Regions from separate parts of the Homo sapiens genome. Here all the other regions are linked to region 5. Evidence: promoter capture Hi-C in 16 types of primary human blood cells and fetal thymus (Javierre and others, 2016). All regions are on one chromosome and are shown on one strand. The core of a region is centred on a gene start or on the middle of the fragment in contact, and the rest is flanking DNA. Distances in the headings are between cores, read along the strand shown.

What was found. Contacts are between HindIII fragments. The CHiCAGO score rates a contact against its expected background, and 5 or more counts as called.
Region 1: a contact is called between a fragment that was not itself captured here and the fragment with the promoter of CABYR in region 5, in 2 of 17 cell types (non-activated CD4 T cells and total CD4 T cells). The highest score is 5.8, in non-activated CD4 T cells.
Region 2: a fragment that was not itself captured here is called in contact with the fragment with the promoter of CABYR in region 5 in 1 of 17 cell types (total CD4 T cells); the score reaches 5.1 in total CD4 T cells.
Region 3: a fragment that was not itself captured here is called in contact with the fragment with the promoter of CABYR in region 5 in 1 of 17 cell types (naive CD8 T cells); the score reaches 5.9 in naive CD8 T cells.
Region 4: a fragment that was not itself captured here is called in contact with the fragment with the promoter of CABYR in region 5 in 1 of 17 cell types (total CD8 T cells); the score reaches 5.2 in total CD8 T cells.

What each region holds. Positions count from the first base shown.
Region 1 is chr18:23,808,623-23,813,616 of GRCh38, reverse strand. LAMA3 (laminin subunit alpha 3) reads right to left here. Exons shown (of 75, transcript NM_198129.4): 13 at 3,114-3,251; 14 at 514-560. Among named protein-coding and RNA genes, the nearest start is that of LAMA3, 120 kb to the right of the region's middle. RefSeq lists an enhancer at 3,128-3,187. The HindIII fragment of the contact is 8,791 bases long and covers 1-4,994 here.
Region 2 is chr18:23,709,006-23,713,416 of GRCh38, reverse strand. All of the region lies in intron 1 of LAMA3 (laminin subunit alpha 3), which reads right to left. It also overlaps the pseudogene RPL23AP77. Among named protein-coding and RNA genes, the nearest start is that of LAMA3, 22 kb to the right of the region's middle. The HindIII fragment of the contact is 867 bases long and covers 2,472-3,338 here.
Region 3 is chr18:23,784,176-23,788,987 of GRCh38, reverse strand. The region is part of intron 12 of LAMA3 (laminin subunit alpha 3); the gene reads right to left. Among named protein-coding and RNA genes, the nearest start is that of LAMA3, 97 kb to the right of the region's middle. The HindIII fragment of the contact is 1,607 bases long and covers 1,532-3,138 here.
Region 4 is chr18:23,637,897-23,642,645 of GRCh38, reverse strand. ANKRD29 (ankyrin repeat domain 29) reads left to right here. Exons shown (of 10, transcript NM_173505.4): 4 at 3,699-3,797. Among named protein-coding and RNA genes, the nearest start is that of ANKRD29, 23 kb to the left of the region's middle. The HindIII fragment of the contact is 9,898 bases long and covers 1-4,749 here.
Region 5 is chr18:24,137,666-24,142,329 of GRCh38, reverse strand. CABYR (calcium binding tyrosine phosphorylation regulated) reads right to left here and starts at 3,268. Exons shown (of 6, transcript NM_153769.3): 1 at 3,212-3,268. RefSeq lists an enhancer at 3,624-3,683. The HindIII fragment of the contact is 10,284 bases long and covers 1-4,664 here.

The DNA of each region.
Region 1 (4,994 bases), core at 2,345-4,844, 330 kb after region 5:
AGCTGAGATCGCGGCACTGCACTCCGGCCTGGGCGACAAGAGCAAAAAAAAAAAAAAAAAAAAGAAAGAAAAGAAAAGAAAAAGAAAAAAAATGTTCAGAATACCATGGTATTGTGCTTGGAATAATATAAAATAAATTGTAATTATTTTGTACACAGCCAACTTTATTTAATGTGTCCTTGGCCATTGATTTTCTCAATGTTATTAATTATGTTTGTCAGACTTACATGCAGGGCTCCACAGAGGCAACACCCTCTGAGTAACCTACAAACCTGCAGTAAGAGTTAAACTCTAGGACTCCAGAGTAACAAGTTTAACTAAATCTTATTCTTTTGTTTTTGAAAAAAAAAATCACAAAATCACATATGCTCTTTGAAAAACAACAATGACCTCTTTAAGCAATTTAGCCTTGGGTCTTATTTTAATTTCTGGAAGTGCCCACACTGTTAGTCCTTAATATGCATGAGAATAATAGAGATAGTTAGAATTGCAACCCTTTTATAGTCTACTTACCAAATTGGAGTTGATGGTACCAGCTGGGTCACAAGCACTGCTGGAACCTGAATATGATTCAGAAATTTTTAAATTATCTGGTAGTTTGTTTTTCTCTTTGTTTTGATGTTTCAAGTTTTAAACGTTTTGTTTTCAAAAATAGTGTATCTACATTTATATTTTCGATAGATGTGTGGCAAAGTCTGCATGCAATTCATAGTCAGGCATCTTGAATGACATTTATGGTCCTTAATCCCCAAATTACCTCTTTTGCCACTGAACAAATCCCTATCCTGTCTACTCATGACAGTTCACTTCTAATTGATGATGAAGGAGGAGATTAGGGAAAGATTCTAAAATTTTGAGCATCATTAGTATTGTCCAGAAGAGGGCAATATTGTACCAAGAGACTTTTAATTGCCCATTTAAAAGACGTTCTAGAATTTCTAAGTACATCTTTAATTATCACACCTCCTTGTTCCCACCCGTACTAAAGTTATTTATAAAATCAATTGGTTTGTTTTCCTGACTTAGTATAACACTACAAACCAAATATAATCTCTCTTCAATAAATTGGGATCTTGCAATGTTTCAGTATTACAATTACACAGTGTTTGAACTGGGTAAGTCTGTTCTGAGTCTGGTTTTTCAAATCATTTAAATAAATCCATAATAGGATCTTGTTTGCTTATAAATTGTTCCTTAACCCTATTGGCTTTGTTTGCTTCTGTCTGCCTCAGCTTCCCCTTGATGATTTTCATTCTCTCTCTCACTCTCTTTTTTGAGACAGGGTCTTGCTCTGTCTTCCAGGTTGGAGTGCAGTGGCACGATCATAGCTCACTGCAACCTCCAATGCCTGGGCTCAAGTGATCCTCTCACCTCATCCTTCTGAGGAGCTGGAATGACAGGCATGCACCACCATGCCCGGTTATTTTAAAAAATATTTTCTAGAGGCTGGGAGTGGTGGCTCACGCCTGTAATCCCAGCACTTTGGGAGGCCAAGGCGGGCAAATCACGAGGTCAGGAGATCAAGATCATCCTGGCTGACATGGTGAAACCCCATCTCTACTAAAAATACAAAAAATTAGCTAGGCATGGTGGCACATGCCTGTAATCCCAGCTACTCGAGAGGCTGAGGCAGGAGAATCGCTTGAACCCGTGAGGCAGAGCTCGCAGTGAGCTGAGATCATGCCGCTGCACTCCAGCCTGGGGGACAGAGCGAGACTCTGTCTCAAAAAAAAATAAAATAAAATCAAAAATAAATAAAAATTCTAGAGACAGGATCTCATTATGTTGCCCAGGCTGGTCTCCAACTCCTGGCCTCAAGCAATCCTCCCGCCTCAGCCTCCCAAAGTGCTGGGATTACAAGCATGAGCCACCCTGCCCTCTCTTTCTTTTCTGATGTTCTCCTGTTCCCTGCATTTTTCCGTAATACCCAACACAAATTTCCAGCTGTTTGTTTTCCATGCCCAACCTCGGGTTCCTCTCCAGGACACAAACATTGCCATCTAGCCCTGGGATGACTGTGGCTGCTCAGCTTCTCTGCCAGGCAGCCACAGCACTTCCTTCTGCTCCTGAGGCCCATGGAGGTGAGCAGACCCATGCAGGATGCCCTCGCATCCTAGGGACCTTCAGGCCTTTTGAAAGGCAAGCACCCACCTCTGACTGCCTGCTGCAACTTCCACCCTCAAGGAAACCTGGTCTCCAGAGGATTCTGGTTAGGAAGATTCTGGGAAATGAAGTCAGTCCTGTCTTCAAAGCGCAGGAAGGGGTCTGAGAAACCACATTCTCCTGATGGATAGTCTGGGTCAGCCTTCCACAAACACCTCTTCACAGTAGCAAGAGTTCTCCGAAATTGACAAGAGCTACTGGTCTGCTCTCTGGCTGCACACACCAGGGAGCCCAGGGAAATTTGTGGACATCTCATTTCTGTCCCCTCTGCCATGGTACATGGGCAAGCCTTAATCTCTCATATCAACAGAGGGATGAATACCAACCACGTCCCACAGCTGCAGGCTTGGTTTTCATCTCCCCCTCAGTGCACTCTCTCCAAACTGCATAGACTCCAGTGCATCCCACCCGCCTTCCCCAACACTTGGGCTGAAGTACGATGACACGGTCCCCCAGAAGGCCAGAGGAGGGCAGGGAGAGAGGCCCGAAACACAGCAAAGGTCCTGCTAAGCCTGCTGGCAAGTGGATCTGTTAGAAACATTACAGTGCTGCCAGCATTAGCACCACAAGCTGGGAGCGAAAGAAGGCATGATGCCTCGGGACAGAAGACAACAAATGGCCCCTTTAACTCAAAGGAGTCACCTATGCCACAATGCTATCCACAGAAAACTGACATGTGAACCAAGAAACCCACATGTATAGCACATGGAAATTTACATTATTTTTAGTTAAAAAAATCATTTCTGGATTCCTTTGAGGGTACATATATGATATACGTGTTTTCAAACCAGACTTGAACAGGTGAGGAACCAAGCAGACTAGATCTGTGAAAGCAGGATGTGGGGGTGGCCAGTGGTGAGTCTGTGGGGGATTTGCAGGCTTCTCTGGGAGGCTGGCTGCACACACTTCAGAGAGGAACCAGCCCTCTAGCAATCTGCTGACTTTCCTACCTTGGCAGTGGGGGAAATCATAAGCTCCTGAGAGACACCTGTCACACCGCTGTCCTGTAACTCCTGGCCGACATTCACACTGTCCAGTCACTGAGCTGCAGGGCATCTGGTAGGATCCAAGGGCTGAACACCAGCAGGCTGGATGAAAGAATTCAATCAGACTTAGGCGGGGGTTGCAGGTATGGGAGGGGGAAGAACCACGTCCCGGAGCAGAGCATGAGGGTGGAGCCAGAAAGACCCAAACACAAATTCCAGCTCCACTTCTTATGAGATCGGGAACCTGAAACAAGCCACTCAACTGCTCTAAGCCTCAGTTTCTCCTTCCTTAAGTGGGAGTGACACTAATTTTTATTTGATAACTTGTTGTGAGGATTGCATAAGATAATACTTAAAAGAGCTTGGGACAATGCCTATCATAGCGAGCACTCAATAACTGCTAGTTTTTATTGCTGTCATGAATTTCATATTCAGCAAGATTTGCAGGTGCTGGGTGATGGTTTTGGGGATTCTGCTCACCTACAGAAACCAGTATTTGTAGGAGGAGGATGCAGGGAACAACTGATGGGGGATGTGACTCACTGGAGGGCCACTTTAATTCCATATCCCACTTGATATTCCATATCAAGTGCAAGCCATTCCAGGCCAGATCAGCCTACAACTGTCCCTGATCTTCTCTTTCCTCCTCTCTTTATACCTCTTTTCTCAATGTCTAGTGTAGTTAAGTAGTCATGGAAAAAATGGTGCAGGCAACATTGAAAAGGATGGGAAAGGCATCCTAGTTTCCTCCCTCCCCCAAGCTGTTACCATGATCTTTGGCTAAGTGATGAATAAACACGTGTGGATGGAGAGAACAGATGCTGGCCATTCATTCTCCTCTTGGCCCCCTTCCCACTGGATCAGGTCCCTACTAGTCTCTATGAGACTAGACTTCTATGGGCTGGAGTTGCACAAGGTCGTCCCCATTTGCATTGCAAAAACCCTTCTTCTGGAGAGGGATGAGCAGTGGAATTGACCTGACTGACTTCTCCGGCTGAAGAGTTCTACATCTTAAGAACTGAAAGAAACTAGAGAGAGCATCTCATTGAATCCCATTATTACATGGTGAAGTTCAGAAGTTAAATGGCATTTTTAAAGTCAATGGATTAGTCTCTAATAAAGGGCTTCAGTCTTTGGAGTCAGACACATCTGGATTCCAGTACCAGCTGTGCCACTTAACAGCCCTGCAATCACGGCTAGTTGCTTAGCTTCTTTAAGCCTCAGTTTCCTCTTCTGTAAACTGGAGCTGATAATAGCACCTACTTTATGAAGTTATCAGAGAATCATCAGCAATAAGGCATTGAGCACGATGCTTCGCACAGCCGAAATGCTCAGGAAGTGTTCACACTTATTAACATTATTATTCTAATTACCCAAGTCCCCCAGTGCTTGGGGAGGTGCTCTTTACACTTTCCCACACTGAATTAATGAAAATCAATGAATTAGTATATCTGACTTCCAAATTTTTATCCAGTGTAGTGTACACAGTAAAAGATACAACCTTGTTTGCAAGGTTTCAAAAATTCCATGCTAGTTGGAGCCTTAGGAAAGAAAAGATTCATAAGGTAAAGCCCCAGTTCTGGTAATTTATTTACAGGTAGCCTTGGAATCTAAGCCTTGGCGCATGGGGCCCCCACAGGGACGAGACCATGTTATTTTCATTCTCTGTGACAGCCCAGCCCATGTATGGTGAATTTCTCTGAAAGTGCTTTTTAGTAAATGATGGTGAACGACAGAATTTACCTGTGTTGTCATCAGAAACGTAAAAGAAACTCTCACTGATGGAGGGGAACTCGGCTAGTTTACTCACTTACAAATTACCTGGGAGTTTCAACAGGCTATGTG
Region 2 (4,411 bases), core at 1,656-4,155, 430 kb after region 5:
TGGCCAATGGCGGTAGATATTCCATGGTGAAAGAGAAGGCATGTCCAGTGCCTGGGAGGACGGATAGGACTTTGGTAAGTGGCAGTGAGCACAAACAGGGAAAGCATTCCAGGTAGAGGAACCAGCACGAGCAAGGGCACAGGGGCCGGCTGGTCTTGTTTCACCTTTGAGGGCAAGCATTGAGAGACAAGGCTTGCCAGGTACATGGAGAGATGTGGCTGGCTGTGAATACCAGCACTGAGAAGTCAGTATTAATTCAGTAAGTAAATGGGGATCCATTTTTACCTGTGGTGATAATCTGTTTGGTATTATAATCTCTAACTTCTTATTGAATTACTCTTTCTTACTAGGCAGATTCTTTTGATTCTGGTTTTTGTTTTGGTTTGGTTTTTGCATAGTTTTGCAGCCATTTACTATCTAAAACCTGAACATAGGCCTTTCTTCTATGTCGAATGTATTTTAAGTGGGTCAGAGGATCATGCTTCCCAGGGATGGACTTCACATACTGAACTATCTGCTCCCAAACTAAATGCTCTTAGGGTATAACCATCACATAGGAGGGGGACAAAGAGGCAAACTTATACCCACAGCCTCCCAAGGAATGTGCTGTGACAAAGAGGTAGCTCTGCCCCTAGCCAGCATCTTAGAAGTTAATTCTTAAGTGTTCAGAGAGAAATTTGATCCTGGTATGTAACCAAAGGTGTGACCACATGTTTTCATCTAGTATGCAACTCATGGTTCTTTCATGCATGGTGAGGTATCTGTGTAGATCTTTATCTTTCGACATTATACAAAAATGGTTCTATAACTCAGAAGCAGTGCCTTGGGTGTATGTGGCCCCGCCACTTCCTGAGGTCGGAGGCCATATGTTTCCTGCTCTTCCCTCTATCACTTCAACCCAACACACTGCCTTGCACCCCCTAGAAACTCAACCAAGGAATAATTCCATCAGCCATTTCTCAAAAATGTTGATTCTTTCTATAAAATGCATTGTCATAATATGGTGCTTAATGAATAACTTTTTTTTTTTTTTTTTTGAGACGGAGTTTTACTCTTGTTGCCCAGGCTGGAGTGCAATGGCATGATCTCAGCTCACCGCAACCTCCGCCCCCAGGTTCAAGCGATTCTCCTGCCTCAGCCTCCCGAGTAGCTGGGATTACAGGCATGCACCACCACGCCCGGCTAATTTTGTACTTTTATTAGAGACGGGGTTTCTCCATGTTGGTCAGTCTGGTCTTGAACTCCTGACCTCAGGTGATCCGCCTGCCTCGGCCTCCCAAAGTGCTGGGATTACAGGCATTAGCCACCGCACCCAGCTATGAATAACTTTTAAGCTAGGACATCTAAACACTTACTATCAGTATTTTCCCTTCTATGATCTTTATTTCTCCCTAGAGAACATTTTACCAGAACATTTAGTTATTTGATGAGGGAATTTAATTATTATTCCTCAAAGTTTAGAAGATTTACATCTGGCTAGAAGCAAAATCTCTCCCCAAAATGGGAATGCTTATGATTTACATTTATCTCCATCTCCACATTATTGATGTGAGGAATGCAGAAGGTGCTTTCTAGGTTGTTAGAGTGATTCTCAATTTCAAAGTAATAATAATAATTAAGATGAAGATTTGTAGAGCACCTATTATGCACTGGGCACCACCCAGTTTATATTTTCATACTAAGATTATTATTATCACCTCTATTTTACAGATGAGGAAAGAGAGTGGAATGTTAAGTAATTTTCCCAAGAACCACACCACTGGTCAATGGTAGAATCAGGACCTAAGTCCAGAGTCCAGGGATAACAAGTTAACACTACCCTGTAACTCTCTAACAGCTACAACTCTGGTTTATTATACATCCATGCATAATCACTAACATACGTTATTTCCTGTAATTTGTTTTAAATGGTAGCCTTCACAGTAGCCTGAAGGTCTCTTTCATTTAGAATCATCTTAGCCTTTCTGCTGATATAGCAGTCCCTCTGCAGCTCCTGTCCATGTCATTCAGCAGACTAGGTAAGAACACAGGCTCAGGAGCTTTAGCACTCACGTTAGCCCTTGATCTCACAATTAGTAGGCACTAAAAACTATATATATCAAATATATATTTCAAGTCTGAGCAATAAATAATTTGAAAGCACATATTTAAAAAATAAGTGTATAGGCAAGACAGCATCACAGGTGTCAACACTGACATTTGGAAGTCTGACTGATATAATAGATACATAAGTTAAAGGTGAATTCCAAGGAGCGAGCTTTGCCCAGGTAATAAAAATGAGTCAAACTTTCTGTTTATTTCTAAGGACTATTGGAAAAAACCTTGACAGACAGCAAAGAATCTACAAAAACAACTTGTCAAACCAGTAATGCCCTAGATGATGGTTTTTCTGGATTAACTTTGTATTAGCCAAGTTTAGGTGATAAATTTTTTGCCATATAAAATAATTTCTAACAAAGAGTCCACAAGCTTAAGTTAAACATTAACAAGCAAAAGTGTAACATACACTTTCTGTTTGAAAAATAAAAAGATCAGTGTAAACATTGACTTTAAAAAGAAAGAAAAATTTATTCTAAAAATTTAATAATGTATTTAAAAATTAATAATTAGAAAGTTTGGCTTCTTTAAGTTACTCTTAAACGGTCAGGGTGAAAATTTTTTATTCAAATCGTTTTATTAAAGTATTCCTTGTCCTTTCTTTCATTTGTTTTACTCCTGAACTTTCAGTAATTTTTACCTTACATCTCAATGTCATATTTACTGCAAATCAACCTATATGAAGAATCAAAAAGAATTTAGTAGTGCCCTAAAGGAAATCAGACTGTGGATCTAGAAGTGAAAAAAAAAATCAGAAGAATGACTTTCTTAAGTGTTAAAACTCTTTGCAGCCTTCTTAATCATTTTTCTTGAGCTCTTCATGGAGAATTAAGTCGACGTGGACATGCTACCTAGATAAGTAGACTTGCGGTTGAAGAACTTTCTCAGGGAGGCCAAGGTTATGACTAATCCTGCAAGTAAAGCCTTGGCACCAAGCAACAAGGTTTTGAGAGAAGATAACCTCGTGGGGCTTTTTAAAAGGGCAATACCTGACAATACTTTTGAAAATCAAACTTGCGGTCTTTTCACAAGATGGCGCCGAAGGCGAAGAAGGAAGCTCCTGTCCCTCCTAAAGCTGAAGCCAAAACGAAGGTTTTGAAGGCCAAGAAGGCAGTGTTTAAAGGTGTCCACAGCCACACAAAAAAAGATCTGCACGTCACCCACCTTCCGGCGGCCCACGACACGGCGACTCCAGAGGCAGCCCAAATATCCTCGGCAGAGCGCCCCCAGGAGAACAAGCTTGACCACTATGCTATCATCAAGTTTCTGCTGACCACTGAGTCCGCCATGAAGAAGATAGAAGACAGCAACACACTTGTGTTCGTTGTGGATGTTAAAGCCAACAAACACCAAATCAAACAGGCTGTGAAGAAGCTCTATGACATTGATGTGGCCAAAGTCAACACCCTGATTAGGCCTGATGGAGAGAAGAAGGCATATGTTCAACTGGCTCCTGATTACAATGCTTTGGATGTTGCCAACAAAATTGGGATCATCTAAACTGAGTCTGGCTGGCTAATTCACCAGAAAAAAAGAAAGAAAGAAAGAAAAGACAATCAAACTTGTGGAGCAGAAGAGAAAAGAATCCATGGGACTTCTCAGATGGAAGATCATTGAGGAGGCTCTTTCCTTCCCATGAGTATCACTGGGACAGGCCACTTTATTTTTTCTGTAGCCATATCTTCCAACAGACGCTTATACCAACTTTACTGCTTCATGGTCATACACAAAATAAAAGGTCTTATATATTTATAAGTCTCTGCTATTTCTGACTCAACCTGGTGTTTTCCACAAGAATTGAAAGTAAAAAATGGGCAAGAGACAAGAACAAGAAGGATTTTTTTAAAGGCAGGAGAAAAAAACAGATGTATAACATTTGGAATAAACGAAATAAAACTGTTATTATTTATTTAAAGATAAAATTATTTACATTAAAACTCCACATGAGGCTGGGCACAGTGGCTCACGCCTGTAATCCCTACACTTTGGGAGGCCAAGATGGGCAGATTGCTTGAGCCCAGGAGTTCGAGAGCAGCCTCGGCAACATGGAGAAACCCCGTCTCTACTAAAAATACAAAAATAATAGCTGGGTGTGGTGGTGCCTGCCTGTAGTCCCAGCTACTTGGGAGGCTGAGTTGGGAGGATCGCTTGAGTCCAGGAGGCTGAGGTTGCAGTGAGCCAAGATCATACCACTGGACTCCAGTCTGGGCAACAGAGCAAGACCCTGTCTCAAAAAAAAAGAAAAAAGAAAAAACCTCCAAATGAAGCCAGGCACAGTGGCTTACACCTGTAATCCCAGCACTTTGGGAGGCTG
Region 3 (4,812 bases), core at 1,086-3,585, 350 kb after region 5:
AATTTTTAAGTATTGAGTTGTAAAAATAATATATCCATATATATGGATTATTTTATAATAATATATCCAGATTTTATATATTATATATATGTGTGTATATGATACTAGTGCCTTATCAGATATATGATTTGCAATATCTTTTTCCATTCTATGATTTATCTTTTCACTTTTTTGATAGTGCCCTTTCGAGTGCAAGAGTTTTTAACTTTGATGAAATCCAATTTATCTATTTTTTCTTTTGCTACTTGTGCTTTTGTTGTCATATCTAAGAAACAGTTGCCTAATTTATGGTTATGAAGATTTATGCCTATATTTTATTCTAAGAGATTTATAGTTTTAGCTCTTACGTTTAGTTTCTTCATACATTTTGTACTAATTTTTGTTTATAGTATGAGGTTGAATCCACTCATGTTTAATGTTATTATTGATAGTGTTGGATTTACCTTGGCCCTTTTGCATTTTATTTTCTGTATATCTCATGTATTTTTTGTTCCTCTATTCCCCCTTTATTGTTTTCTTCTGTATTAGATATTTTCTAGTGTAATTTTTACTCTGTTTCATGACTTTTTAATCATTTTTGAGTTACTATGTTAGTGGTTGCTCTAGGGCTTACAAAAAGAAATCTACATTAGTATCATATTGATTTAGTTCCAGTAAAATAGAGAAATTTTACTCTTATTTAGTTCTATTCCCTCTCCACCATTTTTGTACTATTGTTATTATACATATTATGTCTCTCTATATTAAAATCCAGCAATACATTTTTATAATTATTAATTTATATAATCTATGTTTTCTAAGGAAGATAATAGAAGAAAGGAGATCAAGCATATATTTATAGAGTGTCTTTATAAACTCTATTTATCCTTTCTAGTTCTCTTTATTTCTTCCTATAGATTTGGTGTCATTTTCTTACTCCAATACAGCTTTGTTCTCACCTATCTCCTTTGTGCTACTGTCAAACATATTACATTTTTATATGATATAGGCCCCATATTTATGTATGTATGTATGTATTTGTATATACAGTTCGTATACTTTCTGTTAAAATCAGTCAAGAGAAGAATGTATAAAAATATTCAATTATACTCTCTTTTGTAATTTTTACATGTTATTCAAATTATTATTTGATGGTACCTGTTTCAGCTTTAAGAACATCCTTTATTATGTCTATTATTTCTTATAAGTCAGGTTGGGTGAATTCTGTTAGTTTTTGTTCATCTGAGAAAGTCTTTACTTAGCCTTGATCATGAATAGTAATTTTGATGGATAGGAGATTCTTGGTTGACAGTTTTTCCACTTTCAGCACTTAGAATATACGCTCTCACTGCCTTCTTGCCTCTATTGTTACTAATGAGAAGTCAGTTGTTATTCTAACTGGTGTTCCTGTGTTCATAATGAGTCTTTTTTTTCCTGCTTTCAAGATTTTCTCTTTGTCTTTGTCTTTCAAAATTTTAATTATGATTTTAACTATAATATGTCTGGCTGTGTGGATCCCTCTGTATTTATGCTATTTGGAGTTCATTAAGCTTCTTAGCTGTATAGATGGCTTTTCATTAAATTTAGTAAGTTTTCCACCATTATTTCTTTGGCTATTTTTTTCTATTCCTTTTTCTCCTCTCTTTCTGATGCTCTCATTACCCATATGTTGTGCTTAATGGTATCCCATATTTCTTTCAGGTTCTGTTTATTTATTTATTTATTTGAGACAGAGTTTCACTCTTGTCACCCAGGCTGGAGGGCAATGGTGCGATCTTGGCTCACTGCAACTTCTGCCTCCCAGGTTCAAGCAATTCTCTTGCCTCAGCCTCCCAAGTAGCTGGGATTACAGGCGCCTGCCACCATGCCTGGCTAATTTTTGTATTTTTAGTAGAGACGGGGTTTCACCATGTTGGCCAGGCTGATCTCAAACTCCTTACTTCAAGTGATCCACCCCTCTTGGCCTCCCAAAGTGCTGAGATAACAGGCATGAGCCACTGCCCCCGGCCTGTTTATTTATTTTCATTCTTTTTTTCTTTCTGTTTTCAGACTGCACAATCTCTATCAATCTGTCATTAAGTTTGCTGATTCTTTCTTCTGCTAGCTCAATTTACTGTTGAGCCACTTTAGTGAATTTTTCATTTCAGTTATTATACTTTTCAACTCCAAAAGTTCCATTTGGTTATTTTGTAAAACAATTTCTATCTCTTTATTGATATTCTCTATTCAATTAGATGTTGTCATCATACCTTCCTTTAATTCATTAACCATGATTTCCTTTAGTCTTCTATACAGATTTATAATAGCTGCTTTAAAGTCTGCTAAGACTACCATCTGGCTCATTCAAAAGTGGTTTCTATTGTCTTCTTCTTCCCCTATGTATGGGTCACACTTCCCTCTTTCTTTGAAATTCTGCTATGCTCTACAAGTGGACACAGGTGGAGGTGGCGCCATGGTCTTCTCAGTTTTCCTCTCCCACCATAGATCCCTACTCTATGAGCCAGCTTGGGTAGGGTTGATTGGGATCCCAGAATTCTCAGCCTGAAGTGCCTAAGTTAGAGCTACTACCCTACAAGTGGAGGGGTGGTGGGTAAGAGAGAGCTGGTCCTCTTTGCTGAGCCCACCTGGAATAGGGCTTCTGCTATACAGGACTGCAGAAGGTTGAGAAATATCAGTGGCCTTCCCCTCCCAAAATGAAACAAACCATAGCCCCAAACTGGGGCACAGGATAAAGAGAGTGCCCATCTTCTTGGCAACACATATGGGTAGATCTTCTATAAAACAGATTTGGGGATGGATAATGAAGGGGGTCATGGCTGAAATGTCACAGAGACTCTCATTTCTTACCTAGATTCAAATTTTCTTAAGTAATTGTTTCTTCATTTGCTATATGCTCTTATGACCATTAACAGAGACTTCAAACAATTTTTTAAAATATTTTCACTGGTTAATTTCTGTTTTACTGAAAAGAGTATCTACCAACCTCCCTCCTCTGTTGTTATGGAAGTCCTTCCTCCCCTCTGCTTTGTCATGAATACATTCATGCATTTTCTACCTACCTTAAAATAAATTAGCTCTAGTAGTGGAGAAATGTGGAAAAGAGCATTCTTAAAGTGTTGTATTATTTATTCATTATCTTTGTATCCATAAACACAAGCTTTGTCCATATGAATAAGTTAGAATATTTGTAATTCATTCTACCAGAATGAATCTGAAGTTGTGGCTGGTAGAGAGGAGGAAAAAAAGAAACCCTTTGATATATTTTCAGCCACAAGAATGTTTTGCACACCAGGAGCCAGCAGGTAAAGGAAAGGTTTGGGGTATGGGATTCAGGCATTTAAACAAACAGGGAGATGGCTGGAAATGGGACTACAAGCTCTTAAAATGATGCAGAGGGAAGTATAGGTCAGGAGAAGAAAGGTGCAAGTGAATAGCTAACTTATGAACAATTACTTCCTCAGTTCTAAGAGCTTTACCTGTCAGTACATATGTAACCCTCACAACAATGAATTATGAGACAGGCACTATTTTTTGGAAACTGAGGAACAGAGGGGTTAAGTAACTTGCCCAAGTTGATAGCTAGTGCCACCCCTGCTCTTCACTACCTTGTCCTCCAGCTTAGGGGAGGGAGTTTTTCATGCTTACAGTTCCTTAGTGTGGCTGACCTTGCAGGTGAGATGACCTAATACCTATTCTAATATCCTCCAGTGTTCAGAGGCTGGAAAGCTAAAGACAGCACTTCTCAGACTCTGTTGGGGCAGGGCTCTGGATGCCAATTGGGTTTGCAAATTGGAAGTGTGTGAATAAGATTAGACCGATGGGAAATAAGGAGGAGGCTGCATCCTGTAGCTGGCTGAGCATTTATGCAGCTGTGCTCTGACTCTGGCTTCCTGGATGCCAAGAGATGAAGTCACCAACCATGGGCTTCCCATCCTTGCACTGGGACATAGCAGTCTGGGCTTAAAACCCAGCCATTCCATTGGAGGCCTCCTTGGAAGCCCAGCCTAGAGCCTGCTGCTCTGGCTCTTAACAACTCCTCTGGGCTAGCACCTAATTACCTATAATAAATCTCTTTCTTTTTATAGTGTCTGAAGTGGTGTTTTATTTCCTGCCTTGATCCTGGACTGATAATCTTCTCCTCTTTCTCCTCCCTTCCCCTACACCATTGTCTGCAGAAAGAAGAATAATGTCAGACAGTAGAAAGGAGGCAGGGGAGAATAATTTGGGCAAATTCATTCATTCATGTGTTCACTCACCCAGCATTGAGTGCATACCTGCCATGCTCTAGGGACCGGACCAGACACTTCCTCCTCCCACCTTCCATCCCCCCTTCAGCGACCCTTGCCGGGATGGGATACTAGGATACAAACAAGTGGGGAGGAGGGGGTTTGTGGTCTCATGTCTCTATGGTTTGCATGTGCTGTCCCCTCTCTCTAGAACACCCTGCCTCCTTCTGTCATCCACCTTCCCATCTTTCTAATCTTATTCACACACTTCCAATTTGCAAACCCAACTGGCATCTGGAGACCCGCCCCAACAGGATCTGAGAAGTGGTGGCAGGTTCCTAAATGCTGTTCAGATACCACCTCCTCTCCAGAGCCAGGATTTGAACCCAAACAGATTATTTCAGAGTCCATGTGCTTAACTACCAGGGAGGAGGCAGGGTAAGGTTGGAAAGAAGGGAAGTGACAAGGTCCAGGTAGGACCATCACATGTAACATCCATATATAAGCCAGGGGCCCATTTATTAAACTGCAAGCCAGACAGCTCTGCCAGAAAGATCTGCATTTCCTCAGGAGGAAATTTATCTTGAGGGATTGATTATGAATATGC
Region 4 (4,749 bases), core at 422-2,921, 500 kb after region 5:
CAGCGCCTTCTGCCCAAGTGTTGCTCAGGCCCGTTGGGCTCATTCTGCCCACTTGGCCCAGCAGGTTGCACTTGGTTCACCCTACCAGCCCAGGTCCCATGCCTGCCAAGGGCAAGCCAGGTGTGTGAGCAAGCATGGGGTCCAGCCACTGCACACAACCAGGCATGCCAGCTGTGGCGAGGCAGGCAGCTCCAGCCACTGGCACAGGTGCCAGCTCTGTGTGAGGCTGTGGCTGGACCAGATGTACCGCAAGTGGCTTCCGCTGCAGGCACCAGGGAATGTAGTGGTGCCTGGGAGCTTGGAGATGCCAGGAACCGCAGAGCCCCAAAGAGGATATCATAGCCCTGGCTCAGGGAGCCCCTAGGTCTGGGCTCCCCAAAGGGCTGTAGCTCCTCTCTCCTCATTGCCTGCAATGTGGCAAGCAGAAGGCGTGTTTCAGCCCTGTTTGTGTTATAAACAGGGTCATTCGCCAGGTCCTAAATTCTTGTCCCGCATCCAAGAAGAATGAGGTATGCAAACAACTGGAGGGTGAACAAAGTGGAGAGGAGCTTCATTGAGTGACAGAACACCTCCCAGGAGACCCAAAGTGGGTGGCTCTTTTCTGCAGGCAGGTCATCCTAACAAGTGTTCAGCTCTCAGTGGAGAGGAGACCCATAGTGGGTAGCGCCTTTCCGCAGGCAAGTCATCCTGATGATCTGAGGAGACCCAAAATGGATAGCTCCTCCCGCAGCTGGTAGTCCCGATATCTGGGTCCAGCTCTCAGCAGAGAGGAGACCCACAGTGTGTAGTTCCTTCCTGTAGCTGGTAGTCCTGACCTCTGTGTCCTGCTCTCAGTGGACAGGAGACCCACAATGGGTAGATCCTTCCAGCAGCTGGTAGTCGGGACATCTTTTTGAATCTGGCTGAGTCAGAGGTTTTTATGGGCTCAGAAAGGAGGGAGTGTGTGCTGATTGGTCCATGGGAAGCCATGGGTGGGAACGTGTCTGCCTCTCACCATCAACATGCCATCCACGGCACCCAGGCTGTTCCTGCCAAGGGGCGCCTACAGGCCCACACCTAGCTGCCCTCAGCCCCTCAGCCTCCCTCCTGTGCTTGTCAGCACCCAAAGTCCGGAGGGGGCCAAGGTTGGGGGGCAAGGCTGGCATGTCAACACCACCTCAAGCATACACACCTCAAGCATGCTCTCCCCTAGCCAGGTCATGACAGACAGCACCCAGGCTCGGCTACAGCTTTGCTCCGCACTGGAGCAGGTGCCGGGAGTGGGGAGAGGCCAGGGAGCAGGAGCAGGCACTTCCAAGCCTGTGGGGGTAATGGGGGCTTCCCAGGCCCAGAGAGCACAGGGATGCCCAGAACCGGAGCTGCAGCTGGGCATGGCTGCTCCCGCACAGCCAACTCAATAGGGGATGGGGCTCCCACCTGCTTCCAGCTCCCACTGGACCTGAGGAGCATGCAGCCCCAGCTGCACCTCCCGTGTGGCAGCCTGCATCTTCGCAGCTGCTGCTCCAGACAGGCCACCACTGCCATCAGTGAGAAGTTAGGCAAGCTACAGCTTGAGTAAGGGGCTTTTTTTTTTCTAGACCACATTTAAAAACAGGCAAACAAGTGGGTGGATCCTGCCTGTCTCAGTGGGTCTTATTGTCCCCACTCCCATCCCACACATGCATGCACACACGTACATATTCACAGAGACACCCAGGCCCTTAAGAACAAGTTTTAAGCATGATCACTAGCTTATAGGCCAGGCTGTCCTCAGCTTTTCACACATGAGTGAGACCTACCATCTTAACAGCTTTGGGTAAACTATGGAAAAAGGGATTTCTTTTCACTGTGTCTGGTAAGGTGTGGTATTAGCTTTGTCCCAAGCTCCAAGCTCAGAAGTGAAGAGTACTCTATAGGAAAAATGTATGTTGCCCACAAGAATGGTTCATTATTTTGCTCATATTACACAGTGATTTGGGTACCAATCTTTGAGTAGACTTGTAAAAGTAGATAGGAAGGGAGGATGCTAAAAACTGTGTCTCAGAATGTCATGATCAGTTTAAATTTTAGAATCAGGATGTTTCTTGTTATTATGTCCCATTTTGAGAAATGTTTTGAGCTCATTTTGACTCTGGGCTTGCAATTGGAGAAGTTTGTGGGTGAATTACTTATTTTCCTTCTTGTACAAGTAGTCTTCCACTCTGGGGCGCTAAAATTTGTAATTTGAATTCTTCCCTGTATTAAGGAATGCTAGTGTTTACCAAACACTATACCAAATATCTTGAGTTTCCAAGGGCTGCTGTGACAAATTAACACAAACTAGGTGGCTTCGAACATCAGGAATTTATTCTCTCAGATCTGGAGGCCAGAAGTCCAAAATCAAGGTGTGGGCTGTGCCGCACTGCCACTGGAGGCTCCTGGGGGAATTCCCTTCCTTGCCTCTTCCAGCCCCTGGTGGCTGTCAGCACTCTCTCCTCAATGCCACAGCTCTCCAGTCTCTGCCTATGTGGTCACATTGGCCTCTCTCTGGGTCAAATATCCCTCTGCCTCACTTCAAAAAAAAATTTATTGTTTTTTATTGTGGTAAAATACACATAATGTAGACTTTACCCTCTTAGCCATTTTTAAGTGTACAGTTCAGTCTTATTAAATGCATTCATAATGTGGTACAACCAACATCATCACCCATCTATAACTCTTTTCATTTTGTAAAACTACACAACTCTGTATCCATTAAATAATAACTTCCCATACTCCCCTTCCCCCAGCCCCTGGCAACCAGCATCATACTTTCTGGTTCTATAACTCTGACTACTTTAGATATCACAGCAGGCTGGGTGCAGTGGCTCATGCCTGTAATCCCAGCACTTTGGGAGGCCAAGGTGGGCAGCTCACTTGAGGCCAGGACTTTGAGACCAGCCTGGTCAACATAGTGAAACCCTGTTTCTACTAAAAATACAAAAAATAGCCAGATGTGGGGGTGCACGCCTGTAATCCCAGCTACTTGGGAGGCTGAGGCATGAGAATCACTTGAACCTGGGAGGCAGAGGTTGCAGTGAGCCGAGATGGCACCACTGCACTCCATCCAGCCTCGGTGACAGAGCAAGACTCTGTCTCAAAAAAAAAAAAAAAAAAAATCACAGTAAAATCATACATAGTTGTTGGCCTTTTATGACTAGCTTATTTCACTTAGCATAATGTTATCAAGGCTCATCCATGTTGTAGCATATGTCAGAATTTCCTTTCTTTTTAGCTAAATAATAGTCCATTGTATGGATACATCACATTTTGCTTGTCTCCTCATCCATAGATGGACACTTCAGTGCTTCCACATTTTAGCTGTTGTGAGTAGTGCCTCTGCCTCACTCTTAGAAGGACACTTGTCATTAGATTTAGGGCCCACCCAGATAACCCAGGATAAGCTCTTCTCAAAATCCTTAACTTAATCACGTCTTTTGCCATAGAAGGTAATATTCACAAGTTTTAGGATGGGGACAGATCTTTTGAGGAGCCACCATTCATCCCATTTCACTAAGAATAAAGTTTTCCTTTCCTTTTGTCACTTCTCTGACCAAAAAATAAGAATCTGTTCAAATTTAGCCCCTTCCTAGGCTAGAAGTTTTCTATGCAAGGATATTGTTTTGTTTTCTTTGCAGATGTTCAAATCAAATGTAAGATAACCAAATGTCTTTTAAAACTAGCCTCTCCCTCTCTCCCAGTCAGGTACAACTGCCCTATTCTTTGCCGCCCAGCAAGGCCATAATGATGTCGTGAGATTTCTCTTTGGATTTGGAGCATCCACTGAATTTAGGACCAAAGTGAGATAACCTTCTTGATTTTGTATTATGTTGAAGAATTTCAGCAGCCATGGGTATTGCTTTTCTCCTCATCTATGGTACGAATTTATGTTTCCCTTTTTACAAGATTCTCAAACCTAAGTAAGTGGATTTCCTCAAGGTTACTTGTAGTGGTTCAGGGGTAGCTCTAAGGGTTCTATTCAAAACGTTACATTTTTACTCTGGGCTCACAATTGGAAAATTTTATGGGGAATTACTTCTATCCTTTCCTGAACTGATACCTTTCTACTGTAGAACACTAAATTTTGTAACCAGGAGGGATACAGTAGCAGTGGCTTTCTAACTTTCCCTGTTTCCATGTTCTTTTTCCCACTGAAGATTAATTCTGATACTATGATAGGAATTGTTGGAAGTATTAATCTGATCCTACTAGATCTGAGACATTTCTAAAGAGGGTGGTTTGGCAGACAGCTTACTTTCATGAGCTATCCTCACTGAAATACATAATACATAGCTACAGTTTACATAGTTGGGAAACTATATAGTGGTTCTTCCTTTAAAGAAGTAATTGGCTAGGCGCGGTGGTTCATGCCTGTAATCCCAACACTTTGGGAGGCCGAGGCAGGGGGATCACGAGGTTAGGAGTTCGAGACCGGCCTGATCAACATGGTGAAACCCTGTCTCTACTAAAAATACAAAAAAAAATTAGCCAGGCGTGATGGCACATGCCTGTAATCCCAGCTACTCAGGAGGCTGAGGTAGGAGAATCACTTGAACCCGGGAGGCAGAGGTTGCAGTGAGCCAAGATCACGCTACTGCACTCCAGCCTGGGCGACAGAGTGAGACTCTGTCTCAAAAAAAAAAAAAAAAAAAAAGAAGTAATTGATTTTCATTTTTGACATATAGATAAGAAAGCTGAGAATGTAGAAAGATTAATTTCATGTTGACAGTATGATTTTACATGATAATATTT
Region 5 (4,664 bases), core at 2,019-4,518:
CTTTTTTTTTTGAGATGGAGTCTCGCTCTGCCACCCAGGCTGGAGTGCAGTGGCGTGATCTCAGCTAACTGCAACCTCCCCTTCCTGGGTTCAAGCAATTCTCTGCCTCAGCCTCCCGAGTAGCTGGGATTACAGGTACTGGCCACCACGCCCGGCTAATTTTTGTATTTTTAGTAGAGACAGGGTTTCACCATCTTGGCCAGGCTGGTCTTGAACTCCTGACCTTGTGATCCACCCACAGGCTCCCAAAGTGTTGGGATTACAGGCATGAGCCACCGTGCCCGACCATTGCTCATGTTTAAGTGTGCATTTTTTAGCTTTAAATTTTGGGGTTTTTTCAGCCTGCTTTGTACCTGCAGGAATAACTTTGTTTTTAACATTAATCAGTGTGAGTATAATTTATTTGTGGTATTATTATACCACCCACTGTCATTTGTACCTTTCGTTTCTCATATCTCCCTTACCCTCTTCCCAAATTTTCCCTTATGTTTCCCCTTCTGCCTTTCTGCCTTTTAAGTGGTATCAGAGATACTGCACAGACCAACCTGTAATTCTCAGAGTTGCAGAGGCTGCCACCTGAAACTGTGTCAGGGTGTATGTATTCTGACTCCTAAAAAATCACCTAAGGCTTCTAAAGAACAAAATTAAATATTTAAGAAAATCCCTAGGAAAACTAAGATAGGAAAAACAAGGTGAAGCTACAGGTAAAGTTAGCACTCCAATGCATGCCATAGCTCCTTCACTTTGATAAAGATGGGCATCAAATCGGCCCCTAAGCTACCAAGCAGCCATCACAAAATAGGAGATAGGTGGTTAAATGATTCAGGTTTCTTGAGGTGAAAAACACATCAGTTGTATGGGAGAACCACAGCTATTCTGGATACTGAAACCCAGGAGAAATTTCTCCCCCAAGTCCTTATAAAGCAAATAGTGTGATATAATGAACCATGTCCTCAACAACATCCCTACAGTAAATAATGAGTTTCACGGGGTTAAGTGGCATAGTTCAGTTACAACAATTATAGAAGGGCACAGCTTCTATTATAAAGTAACGAATATCTCATAGCAAAATGTTCAATACTTAAAAACACATCTCATCTTCCCAAAGGTCAGGACAAAATGAATCTGTACTGGCCAAAGCAAATCCTTTCAGTATATAATTAAGTATAATTGAATCCCTTAATGAAAACTTCCTTTTACGATATCATTCAACAGATTTACTGAATTAAACCATCTTTAAAAAACCAGAAGTGATCCAGCAATCCCACTGCTGGGTATATACCCAAATGGAAATCAGTATACAGAAGAGATATCTGCACTCCCATGTTTGTTCCAGCACTGTTGACAATAGCTAAGATTTGGAAGCAACCTAAGCGTCTATCAACAGATGAATGGATAAAGAAAATGTGGTACATACATACAATGGAGTACTATTCAGCCATTAAAAAAGAATGAGATCCTGTCATTTGCAACAAAGTGGATGGAACTGGAGATTATTATGTTAAATGAAGTAAGTGAGGCACAGAAAGGAAAACATTGCATGGTCTCTTATTTGTGAGAGCTAAAAATTGAAACAATTGAACCCACGGACATAGAGAAGGATGGTTACCAGAAGCTGGGAAAGGTAATGGGGCCTGGGTGGGGGAGGGGGAAAGTGGGGCTGGTTAATGGGTATAAAAAATGAATAAAACCTACTACTTGAAAGCACAACAGGGTGTCTATAGTCAATAATTGTACATTTTAAAATAACAGAAAGAGTATAACTGGATTGTTTGTAACACAAAGGATAAATGTTTGAGGGGATAGATGCCCCATTCCCAATGTGATTAACATTGTATGTCTGAATCAAAACATCTCATGTGCCCCATAAATATATACACCTACTGTGTACTCACAAAAAAAGAATTTTTTAAAAAATCAGAAGTGGGGATTCCGCAGTCCCACATGCTAAATGCTAAGGGGCATAGGCAGCATGACATGTTTGATACATACATACTATTTGATACATATATATATTTGATACATACTCATATATATCATATGTCTAATTTTCTTTAAGTACCCAAAGTGAGTAGATAGACCGTTTTGAAAGTGGCTCCCAGAGGCCGGGCGCGGTGGCTCACGCCTGTAATCCCAGCACTTTGGGAGGCCGAGTCGGGCGGATCACGAGGCGAGGTCAGGAGATGGAGACCATCCTGGCTAACACGGTGAAACCCCGTCTCTACTAAAACAAAAAATCAGCCGGGCGTGGTGGCGGGTGCCTGTAGTCCCAGCTACTCGGGAGGCTGAGGCAGGAGAATGGCGTGAATCCGGGAGGCGGAGCTGACAGCCGAGATCGCGCCACTGCACTCCAGCCTGGGTGACACAGCTAGAGTCCGTCTCAAAAAAAAAAAAAAAGAATAAAAAAGAAAGTGGCTCCCAGAAACCATGATGGCGCCAACAACCTTTCAGGAGGCAGTTAGCAGTTGGTGCTACCAAAGGTGGGGACAGCGGCCATGCACTCCATGATCCCCCGTCCCACTAGTTCTCACCCCGACTTTGGGAACGTGTGGGGCCAGGGACGCTAAACGTCCTACAGTTCAGTTCCCCACAAAGAACTGTCCTAAGCAAGCTGAGAAAAGTCAACGGGTAAAATTGTCACAAACACTATTAGGGTTATTTAAAAGCGACAGCTTAATAATTCTTCCCAGATCTCTCCTATCACCAATACTGGTCCACCACTGGCGGAATTTAAATCCTGCCCCGCCCAACTGTAAACGTCCATGCGCCCACTACCACAAGGGTAACGCCTTAAGCGAGAAATACGATGCCTTTCAGGATGCCAGCGGGGACTTCGGAGCCATAGGTAACCGCACTCCCCGACCTCTCCCTAAAGAACCTCCGGGATGTGGGCCCCCGCTGTGTCAGTGCTCGTTTTGCGCTAGGTCTGTTTGGGAGAGACGGGAGTGAAATGTAGGAGGCTGGGCGTGCTCACATCGCCTGGACTTGTCCAAGAGAGGCGGGCGACGGACCCACCGAGGCCTCAGATTCGGCAGCTGGCCGTCTGGTCGCCGCACTCCCCGGTGTGGGCCGGGGCCGCCCCACAGGCCCCCCACCCCCGACTCTGAGGACCCTCCGCCTGCCCCGACGACCTCTCCCACTGCGAGAGACTCCCTGAGACATAATGGTCTCCGAGGCCGCAGGGTGCGCCTTTTCTCCAGATTCTCCCCACCTGCTTTCCGGCCGCGCTCTTAAGAGCTTCCTCGTTGCCCCCTTGCCGGCGGCTCCTGAGGAGACTTGGCGCTTGCGAGCGTTTTTATAGCCCCGCAGGCATCGGGGCGTGCATCACGAAGCTCCGCATCACAAAGCTCCGCACCACTCAAGGAGGCGGGGCCACAGCGGCCGCAGCCAATGGGGAGCCGAAAGCGACAAAGGCCATGATTTGGCCGGCGAGGGAGACTTATTTCCCCTTTTCTGGCTAAATCTGAACGGATTTAGGTGATTTCCCAACAAATAGCCAGGAGTAGCTCAAAGCGACTGCCTCTCCGTCTTTGGTCGTTGAGCTTAAAATTAGAGCTCGTTTGGAAAGAAAGTAAGAGATTTATGGCAGTGCTGTCTTGTCACTGCCTCGCCATTCCACACATTGCTCCTGGCCCCATAAACTATAGCTCTCTTCGGTCACCTTTAGGAATAATAATTTCTGCCACGTTGTAGACACACAGTGAATAATTGTATGCAACAGAGCACTTTTTCTTTTGTGAAACTCGCCTGTGGAATGGGAGTTCAGCATGAATCCAGAAACTTCCTGTTTCTCCACAGTTGAGATCAGACACCAACTATCCCCACAAAGCACACCGTCAGCAACAAGTCAAGGTGTTACTGTGTGTAACTTCAGCTCAATTTTACCAAACTAAAGGAATACTGCTTCATTTAAAAACGCCCACTCTGCCGGGCACGGTGGCTCACGCCTGTAATCCCAGCACTTTCGGAGGCCGAGGCGGGTGGATCACGAGGTCAGGAGTTCAAGACCAGCCTGGCCAAGATGGTGAAACCCTGTCTCTACTAAAAATACAAAATATTAGCCGGTCGTGGTGGTGGGTGCCTGTAATCCCAGCTACTCTGGAGGTTGAGGCAGAGAATTGCTTGAACCTGGGAGGCGGAGGTTGCAGTGAGCCCAGATCACACCACTGCACTCCAGCCTGGGCTACTGAGCGAGACTCCGTCTCAAAAAAACAAAAAACAAAACAAAAAAAACAAAAAAACGCCCACTCTCTGCTCTTTCACTCATTTAGGCTCAGGTATTTGGGCTGGGCTCTAAATAACACCATAATCATGATTATCAGAGTACAAGCAGCCTTAATTTTGATCCATCTTCAAATGTTTAAAAAGCAACTACTTTAAACCAAAGAGCATCGCCAGGGCAGATATCTGACCAAAAACAAAACAAAACAAAACAAAAACCAAACCAAAATAAAACAAAACCCTATTTTTTAATTCAGAAAAAATTAGGGCTTCCAGAGCACTTTGCAATAAAAGCAATGTTAAGGCCTCAGTCAGCATTATCTGGTGCCATTCATTAATCCACTTAATAATTATTTTACTGAGTGCCAGGAAAGCTCCCTCTTCTCGGGAAGTTTACATACTTAAAAAGGGAGAATTAGCGAGACTCCGTCTCACAAAACAAA